Regions from separate parts of the Homo sapiens genome. Here region 2 is linked to region 1. Evidence: promoter capture Hi-C in 16 types of primary human blood cells and fetal thymus (Javierre and others, 2016). All regions are on one chromosome and are shown on one strand. Each heading gives the region's core, a stretch centred on a gene start or on the middle of the fragment in contact. The rest is flanking DNA. Distances are from core to core; before and after follow the strand shown. Region 1 holds the start of CD302 (CD302 molecule). Region 2 overlaps BAZ2B (bromodomain adjacent to zinc finger domain 2B).

Region 1 (3,908 bases), core at 489-2,988:
ATGGCTCTAAAAATCCTCTGTGTTCCATCTATTCATCCCCTCCTTCTTCCCACCCCAACCCCTGGCAACCATTTATCTTTTTACTGTCTCCATAGTTTTGCCTTGTCTAAAATGTCATATAGTTGGAATCATATAGTATGCAGTCTTTTCAGATTGGCTTCTTTCTCTTAGCAATACATATTTAAAGTTCTTCCATGTCTTTTTGTGGCTTGATAGCTCATTTAATTTTGGTACTGAGTAACATTTCATTGTTTGGATGTGCCATTGTTTATCCATTCACTTATTGAAGGACATCTTGTTTGCCTCTAGGTTCTGGCAATTATGAATAAAGCTGCTATCAACATTCATGTGCAGGTTTTTGTGTGTATGTAAGTTTTTAACTCATTTGGATAAATACCAAGGAGTTGTGATTGCTAGATGGTATGGTAAGAGTACGTTTAGTTTTGGAAGAAGCTTCCAAATTGTCTTCCAAAGTGGCTGTACCATTTTGCATTTGCACCAGCATTGAATGAGAGTTCTTTTTGCTCCACATCTTTGCCAGCATGTGGTCTTGTCAGTGTTTTTGGATTCTGGTATCTAATAGGTATGTAGTGGTATTTCATTTTTGTTTTCATATACAATTCAGCAATGACATATGATGTTGAGCATCTTTTCATCTATTTGCCATTATATAACTTCTTTGATGACGTGTGTATTCAGATCATCTGACCATTTTTTTTAACTGGGTCATTTGTTTTCACGTTGTTGAGTTTAGACTTGATTTTATAGAACTCTTTTGCCAATGACATGAGGCTTAAACAAGCACCCTTGCTTGACCCTGGCTAGTGTTGTCCAGAGGCCCTCATGGGTGAAGTATAATTGCACAGTTTATGCATACATTGTAGCAAACATAGCTTAAAGACTCTTCATCCAGGAGCTGGTAACAGAGAAAAGTTGTCTAAGAGACATAGTCCACTGAAAGGGGTCTTTGAAAAGGAGGATTCTGGCCAGTAGATCCAAAGAAGAAGGCTGGCAAACGCCACCTTAACCAACTGATCCAAGTTAACATCAGTGATGAGACATCGACATCTTGTCCTTCTCGAGCACGTACATCACTTCTGGGGAACTCTTTCCCAAAAAAGCGCAACCTGAATCCAATTAGAAGGAAATGTCAGACAAAATGAAACTGAGGGACATTCTACAAAACGACTGGCCAGTACTTTTTAAATGTGGTTTGATCGTGAAAGAAAAAGAATGACAGAGAACCGTCCTAGATTAAAGGGAGACTAAGGAGACACGACATGCAATGTATGATCCTGGATTGAATCTTGGAACAGAAAAGGACCCTTAGAGGGGCAATTAATGAAATGTGGTAAGTGCTGTAGATTAGCTAATCGCATTATCCCAGTGCGAGTGCCCTGTGTTTGATCACTGCACTGGCGTTATATACAATGTCAATATTTAGAGAAGCTGGCTGAAGGGTTACGGAAATCTCTTGTGCTGTTTTTGCAACATTTTCGAAAGTCCTAAATTATTTCAATTCAAATGAAAAGTTTAAAAAACAAAAATTAGAAGTTCCAGAAGGCCGCGCGCCAGCCGCTCCTGCGGGACGGGACACCCGGGTTCTCCTGGTGGGAGCCCCCAGTGCCGTTCACGTTCCGCCCGGGGGGGGGATTAAACTCGCACGCGAGAAGCACCGCCCCCGCTCCCGCCCCGCCCCGCTCCTCTCCGGCCGCGCAGCCGCTGCCGCCCACCCGCACCCGCCGTCATGCTCCGGGCCGCGCTGCCCGCGCTCCTGCTGCCGTTGCTGGGCCTCGCCGCTGCTGCCGTCGCGGGTAAGCCCTTACGTAGTCCCTCGCCGGGACCGTGCGCGACCGCCTTCGCCCCCTTCCCAACGCACGCTCTTCGTCCCCGCGCACCCGAGGGCGGCCCGCAGACGCAACACCCGGCCGGCCATCCCGCCCTTCCCTGCACGCCCGTCCCCCGTGGGTCCTGGCTCCGGGTCACCTCTCACCCGCCTGCCCTCGGGGAGGGGAGGTGGCCGAGAATAAGGGAGGGCTCTGTCTTCCTCGGAGTCCACATCCTCACCGCAGACCCCACTCCGCGGGGAGGGAACCCCCAAATTAGGCCAGTTGGCCGGAGAACTGAGGGACTTGGAGTCGCACGACGGGCGCCGTTTCAGGGCAATTTCGGGCTGAAATGAGAAGCGGGGACGTTGGTGGCGATTTCCCCTGCTGGTGCGCGGCCGGAGTGGGGTTGCTGGGATGGGGGTGGGGGCCGGAGGAAGTAGGCCCTCTTTTGCAAGCAGCGCTGTTTGTCTAGTTGGTTGGTGTTCAAGTTGTTTAAACAGGAAAACAGTTCAGCCAAATAACCCCTGGATGGAAGAGGAACGGGAATAGGCAAAGCTTGGATTTCACTGAAATCAAGGAGTTTTAAAGTTCTAGTCTGCTGTTGTGCAAGTGACATCTGAAAAATCACACACGTGATCATTCATTTACAAAACGACTCGTGAGGAAAATGCACAATTCTATTGACCGTGGTCTTTATTTTTAAAAAATTTCCATACAAGCATGTCAAAAATATGTGGATGGGGAGACTCTGGAGAACACAGACTTCCAAAAACACCACTGACTGAATAATTCCAGGAATTAAAGAGCAAAATAAACAAGAACTAAATGAGTACTTGTGTGGGCTTAAATAAAGTGCAAGAGATTTAAATAAAATGCAAGAGATTCCCCCCCCCCACCCCTTGCCCCAGATTTCACTGCGTTTTTATAATAACTGCCTGCTCGAAGTCTACTGACAGGAATATTTCAGTGGACCTCAGTGTTGGAGGCAGCAGCAGCTCAGAACTTGGATACAAACCCAAGGTTCCTTTCTTGAAAACTTCTGTGGACCTGCATTTATGACTGGTTGTGACATCTGCTGCCTATCAAAGGGGCAGAAACAAGATGTGCCCATGTTCACATTGTTCAGACTGGGAACATTAATTTTGTCTAAGACAAAGCTGGGCTGTCTCTGAACCCTCCTTCTGCACACCCTCATTTTGCGAGCCAGTAACATCTCAACTCTCATGTAAACCACCCTCTGCGAGGCTGTGCATTTGTACTTTAGGCTAGTCGAATTTTCTTGTCAGATTTTTCTTTCTTGTCAGACTTTTAAAGAAAATCAGTTTCTAGATTTTGGTATGTCTCTTCTTCAGTGAAGCTGTTTTGACCAGCAATAGAGGGCAAATTTCCCTTTGGAAATTTTTGTGCATTTCCTTTGATAAGTCCAGTGTGGATCAATAGGCTTTTCAAGAGCTTTAGAAAAGTGCATGATGAATAAATTAATGTTAATTAATCAGCTCCTCCCAGTCAGGAAGCTTTAAGGATTAATTTGGAAATGAGTGTGAGCTTTGACCTAGCTAGTTAACCAACTTATCTGCACTTCAGTAAAACAGAGATAATACTTACTCATGGGGCTATTGGGAGCATTAAGTGGGAACTCCACGTCTAGTCCCTATTACAGGCGTGGTTCATCTTGGTTTCCTTCCCTTTATTCTCTTCATACAAAATGAAGGGTAATTGTTGCAACCAGAAAACGTATGAATACCACCTTATGTATATTGGATGTTTATGGTTACTGAACACATTCATATGTATGCTAATGTTATAGGGCTGAAAAACTAAGTGTGTTTTTCATAATACTTTACAAATCTCCCATCCAAGCAAGATCAGGGGTCATATTTGGCTTAGAACTAAGTCAAGAAAGAGTTTGTTGCTGAATACCAAGATCTTAATAGAAAAGCTCTTATGATGTTGCATAATAAATATGGGTATTGCATATAAATGTGATGTTGAAACGGAAATCATTGTTATTGTCTGTCATTCTGGAGGTTATTAGTGAAGTGATCTTAACCTTGTTCTTAGCTATTATTTTGAAAATCA
Region 2 (4,233 bases), core at 1,286-3,785, 240 kb after region 1:
TTGTATTGACTCTGTTACCATCAAAAGACTATTTTTGCATTGATTAAAGTTGAGAGCTTAATGTTAGGCAGGTAGGTCCTTGAAAGCAGTTTTTTGGATACAGAGAGAGTAATGTGTTTTATCTCCGTGGCCACCTTCTTTTTTTTTTTTAACAGGGTTACTCCTTCACCCAAGATAGAGTGCAGTAGTACGATCAGAGCTCACTGCAGCCTTGACCTCCTTGGGCTCAGGTGATCCTCCTACCTCAGCCTCATGAGTAGCTTGGCGGGACTACAGGCGTGTGCCACCATGTCTTGCCAATTTTTCTATTTTTTGTAGAGATAGGGTTTCACCATGTTGCCCAGGCTGGTTTTGAACTCATGGGCTCAAGCAATCTGCTTGCCTCAGCCTCCCAAAGTGCTGGGATTACAGGCATGAACCACCCGCGCCTGGCCTATGTAGCTACCTTCTGATCTAATTTGGTATGATGGGGTAGAGAAGGTTAGTTTAGAGAGAATGTTTCCTGTCTTATCTTCTTTTACCCATCTTAACACTTTTACCCCTCTAAAACTGTTCAACATGTTTTCCTCTTTGGAAATCTTTCTTCATGTGCCTTTATTCATTGTATTTTCTATGTCTCTACTTCTTGAACTTAAACAAAACAAAAAACCCTGCAATTCCACTTCTCTTATTTCCCATGGGCCCTACTTATAGGTCTCTGCCAAATTATGCTGGCTGTTCTGTTTTTTTCTTCATATTCCCTTGGTGAACTTGCCCACAGTCTTGGCTTGAACTGTACTTTTATATAACTGATTTTCAAATCTTGAACTCTTCTAAATTTCTACCTGCTGGAGCCGGGCACAGTGGCTCACGCCTGTAATCTCAGCACTTTGGGAGGCCGAGGTAGGCGGATCACCTGAGGTCAGGAGTTCAAGACCAGCCTGACCAACAGGGAGAAACCCCGTCTCTACTAAAAATACAAAAAAAATTAGCCAGGCATGGTGGCGCATGCCTGTAATCCCAGCTACTCGGAAGGCTGAGGCGGGAGAATTGCTTGAACCTGGGAGGTGGAGGTTGCGGTGAGCTGAGATCGCGCCATTGCACTCCAGCCTGGGCAACAAGAGCAAAATTCCATCTCAAAAAATAAATAAATAAATAAATAAATTTCTACCTGCTGGTGGGAAGCGTCTTCATTTGAATGGCCTATGGTGACACTGGCCTGTCCTATTGTTCTAAATAAAAGTCACCCCACCCTGCCACTTCAGATTTCTTTCATTATGTGAGTGAGAATCTTTGAAGTAATCTTTCACTTTTTTGCTATCCTTGTTCCTAATACTTAGTTTAGCATGAAGCCTTCTGGTTTCACCATTTAAGATTTGGGTTTCCCATTCCCTCTGCATTTCCTCTTCTTCACTATCCAGACCCTCATTATCATACACCTTTAATTCACTACCCGCGCTTTCCCATCACCCCCTGCCTTGCTTTTTTTTTTAAGCTTCCCAAATGCTTCTTGCAGTGACTTAAAAACGTATACCAAGTTGTTATGGCATATTTTCTTTAAATAGATAGTAATTCTTGAAGAGTTTTTATTTAAACTTTCTTTTGGATCCTTTGTAGCTCTTGACATAATGCTGGATGCAGTAGGAACTTGATAAATACTTGTTCACTCATTCATTCAGTAGCTAATTAGCTATTGGGTTCCAGGTACTAAACTTGTGCTCCAGTGATCTTCCTTCATGGAGTTAAAGCTAACAGCAGCCTCTGGTGGTAAAGGAAGGCCTCTCTAAGGAGGTGGCGTTTGTTATGAGACCCGATTGAAGTGAGAAAACCAGTCCTATGAAGATATGGAGAACAATTGCTCCAGGCAGAGGGAAGAGCAAGTGTCAAGGCCCTGAAGTGGAACAAATTTGATATGTTTGGGGATTATCAAAAGGGTGATTGTGACTGGAACATGGTAGAAGCAGGAAATGCAGTCAGGGCACCAGGTAACAGAGGGCCTAAGAGGTCATGATAATAAGTATTGTGGGTTTTATTCTAAGAGCTGCTAAAGCCATTGTACAATTTTGAGTAAGGGAATGATGTGATCTGATTAACTTGCTTTAAGAACAGAGGTAGGTACTTGAGACCGGGAGTTTGAGACCAGCCTGGGCAACATGGTGAGACCCCGTATCTCAAAAAAAAAAAAAAAAAATTAATTAGCCAGGTGTAGTGACACACACCTGTAGTCCCCAGCTACTCAGGAGGCTGAGGCAGGGAAAAAAAAAAAAAAAGAATAGAAGTAGGGAGGCTATAATGGTAACATAGGAGAGCCAGTAATCATGAAGTAGTAAGGTAAAATTAAGGATAGAGTGACGAAGAGTAGTTGGTAGGACAGACTAGGTGAAAGGTCTGAGGTAAAAGAGAAACCAGGAAAAATTCAGTTCTTTGTGCTTAGACAAGTCATGTATCATTTCTAAATTCTGTTTTCCTGGAGTCTATAATAAGGAATATCTCTTTCCTGCCCCTTTGAAGGATTCGTTATGAGGACCTGATAAAATAATACATGAAAGTCCATTATGAACCTTAAAATGCCATAACCATGTGTTACTTTTTGATACTAAACATTTAAGGGCTCATCTCAAATTAGACCTTGTTAATAAAGAAATTTCCAGGCTAGGTCCGGTGGCTCATGCCTGTAATCCCAGCACTTTGGGAGGTCAAAGTAGGTGGATCACTTGAGGCCAGGAGTTTGAGAACAGGCTGGCCAACATAGCGAAACACTGTCTCTACAAAAAATACAAAAAGTTAGCTGGGTGTGGTGGTGCACACTTGTAGTCCCATCTGCACAGGAGGCTGAGGCACAAAAATCGCTTGAACCCAAGAGGCAGAGGTTGCAGTGAGCCACGATCGCGCCACTGCACTCCAGCCTGGGTGAGATTGAGACTCTGTCTCGAAAAAACAACAAAAAATTCCAAAAATTAAGATTTCACAGGGATAAACTTGAAGCCATTTACAGTTTAGGAAATAGTTTTTTCCTGTTCTAAATTCTTCCCAGTGATATTTTCAATCTTTTGATAATTTTGTCGCTATTCATAAATATTAGCATGTGGTAATGTCTCCAGTATTAAGTAGATGACATTTTGGTTCTAATCTGTACTGATAATCATAGACAGAAAAGTATTTATAAATAATACCTAATTGTCTTCAGTTTGTGACGTATTTAAGACATTGTTTTTCTCTTCTGAGTACGTAATTTGAAGACAAATAAAACTTGTAACCCAAATGTCCTACAGCTTGTTTTTTAATATGTTATGTTCACCCTAGGGTGTTGGTGATTATAAACAAAAACATGATCTGCCATACTATAATAAATAATGATCTATAAATAAACTCCAGTCCTTTTATGCTTATTTTTGTCATACTGATTATATGGACCCTGATACCGTAGGTTAATTTCAATATGACTTACAGCATGAAGAAAGACACAAATTTTAAACAAACTTTTTAGTTTCTGAAATTTCTTAAGTATGCTTCAGCTGATTGCTAATTCTTGTTTTCCTATTGCAGGTTTCCCAACAGTGATGTCACAAGATTGACCACATTGATCACAGTAAGACCAAAATGATAGTTAAGCTTTTAAGGAAGTTTGGTTTTCTCTGAGAATGAGAATTGACTTAGAAAACATATATAATTTGAAATTATTATTTCTTTTGCTAGCCAGTTGAATGTTAACATTTTAAATGAATCATATCTTATACTTCTAGCTAGTTATTTAAATACTTTTAAAATATTACTTTAAAGGATTTAAAAAACATTTAAAATGAAAATTACTTTTAATTTACAACTGAAATTACAGGCCTAAATATACTAAATTATTTCAGTGTGACTTAAATTCTGAACGTCATCTTTTTTGAGTTTTTATTTTTACCAGAAAATGACAGAAAGGTTAAGGTGATTCCACATTAGGAAATATATATAAAAGTAAATTACTTGAGATTGTAATGAATTATTAAGGAAAGATTATGAAAATGTAGCCTTGGTAGGCTGGGCGCGGTGGCTCACGCCTGTAATCCCAGCACTTTGGGAGGCCGAGGTGGGTGGATCAGCTGAGGTCAGGAGTTCGAGACTAGCCTGGCCAACATGGTAAAACCCCGACTCTACTAAAAATACAAAAATAGCTGGGCATGGTGGCACACACCTGTAATCCCAGCTACTCGGGAGGCTGAAGCAGGAGAATCACTTGAACCCGGGAGGTGGAGGTTGCAGTGAGCTGAG

What was found. Contacts are between HindIII fragments. The CHiCAGO score rates a contact against its expected background, and 5 or more counts as called.
Region 2: a contact is called between a fragment that was not itself captured here and the fragment with the promoter of CD302 in region 1, in 1 of 17 cell types (M2 macrophages). The highest score is 5.4, in M2 macrophages.

The regions. Positions count from the first base shown.
Region 1 is chr2:159,796,038-159,799,945 of GRCh38, reverse strand. CD302 (CD302 molecule) reads left to right here and starts at 1,738. Exons shown (of 6, transcript NM_014880.5): 1 at 1,738-1,814. The coding sequence starts at 1,748. All of the region lies in intron 33 of LY75-CD302 (LY75-CD302 readthrough), which reads left to right. LOC124906083 (a long non-coding RNA gene) reads right to left here. Exons shown (of 2, transcript XR_007087273.1): 1 at 1,994-3,908; 2 at 1-1,127. The HindIII fragment of the contact is 1,931 bases long and covers 456-2,386 here.
Region 2 is chr2:159,555,158-159,559,390 of GRCh38, reverse strand. It overlaps BAZ2B (bromodomain adjacent to zinc finger domain 2B), which reads left to right. Exons shown (of 37, transcript NM_013450.4): 2 at 3,526-3,568. Among named protein-coding and RNA genes, the nearest start is that of BAZ2B-AS1, 58 kb to the left of the region's middle. The HindIII fragment of the contact is 2,117 bases long and covers 1,477-3,593 here.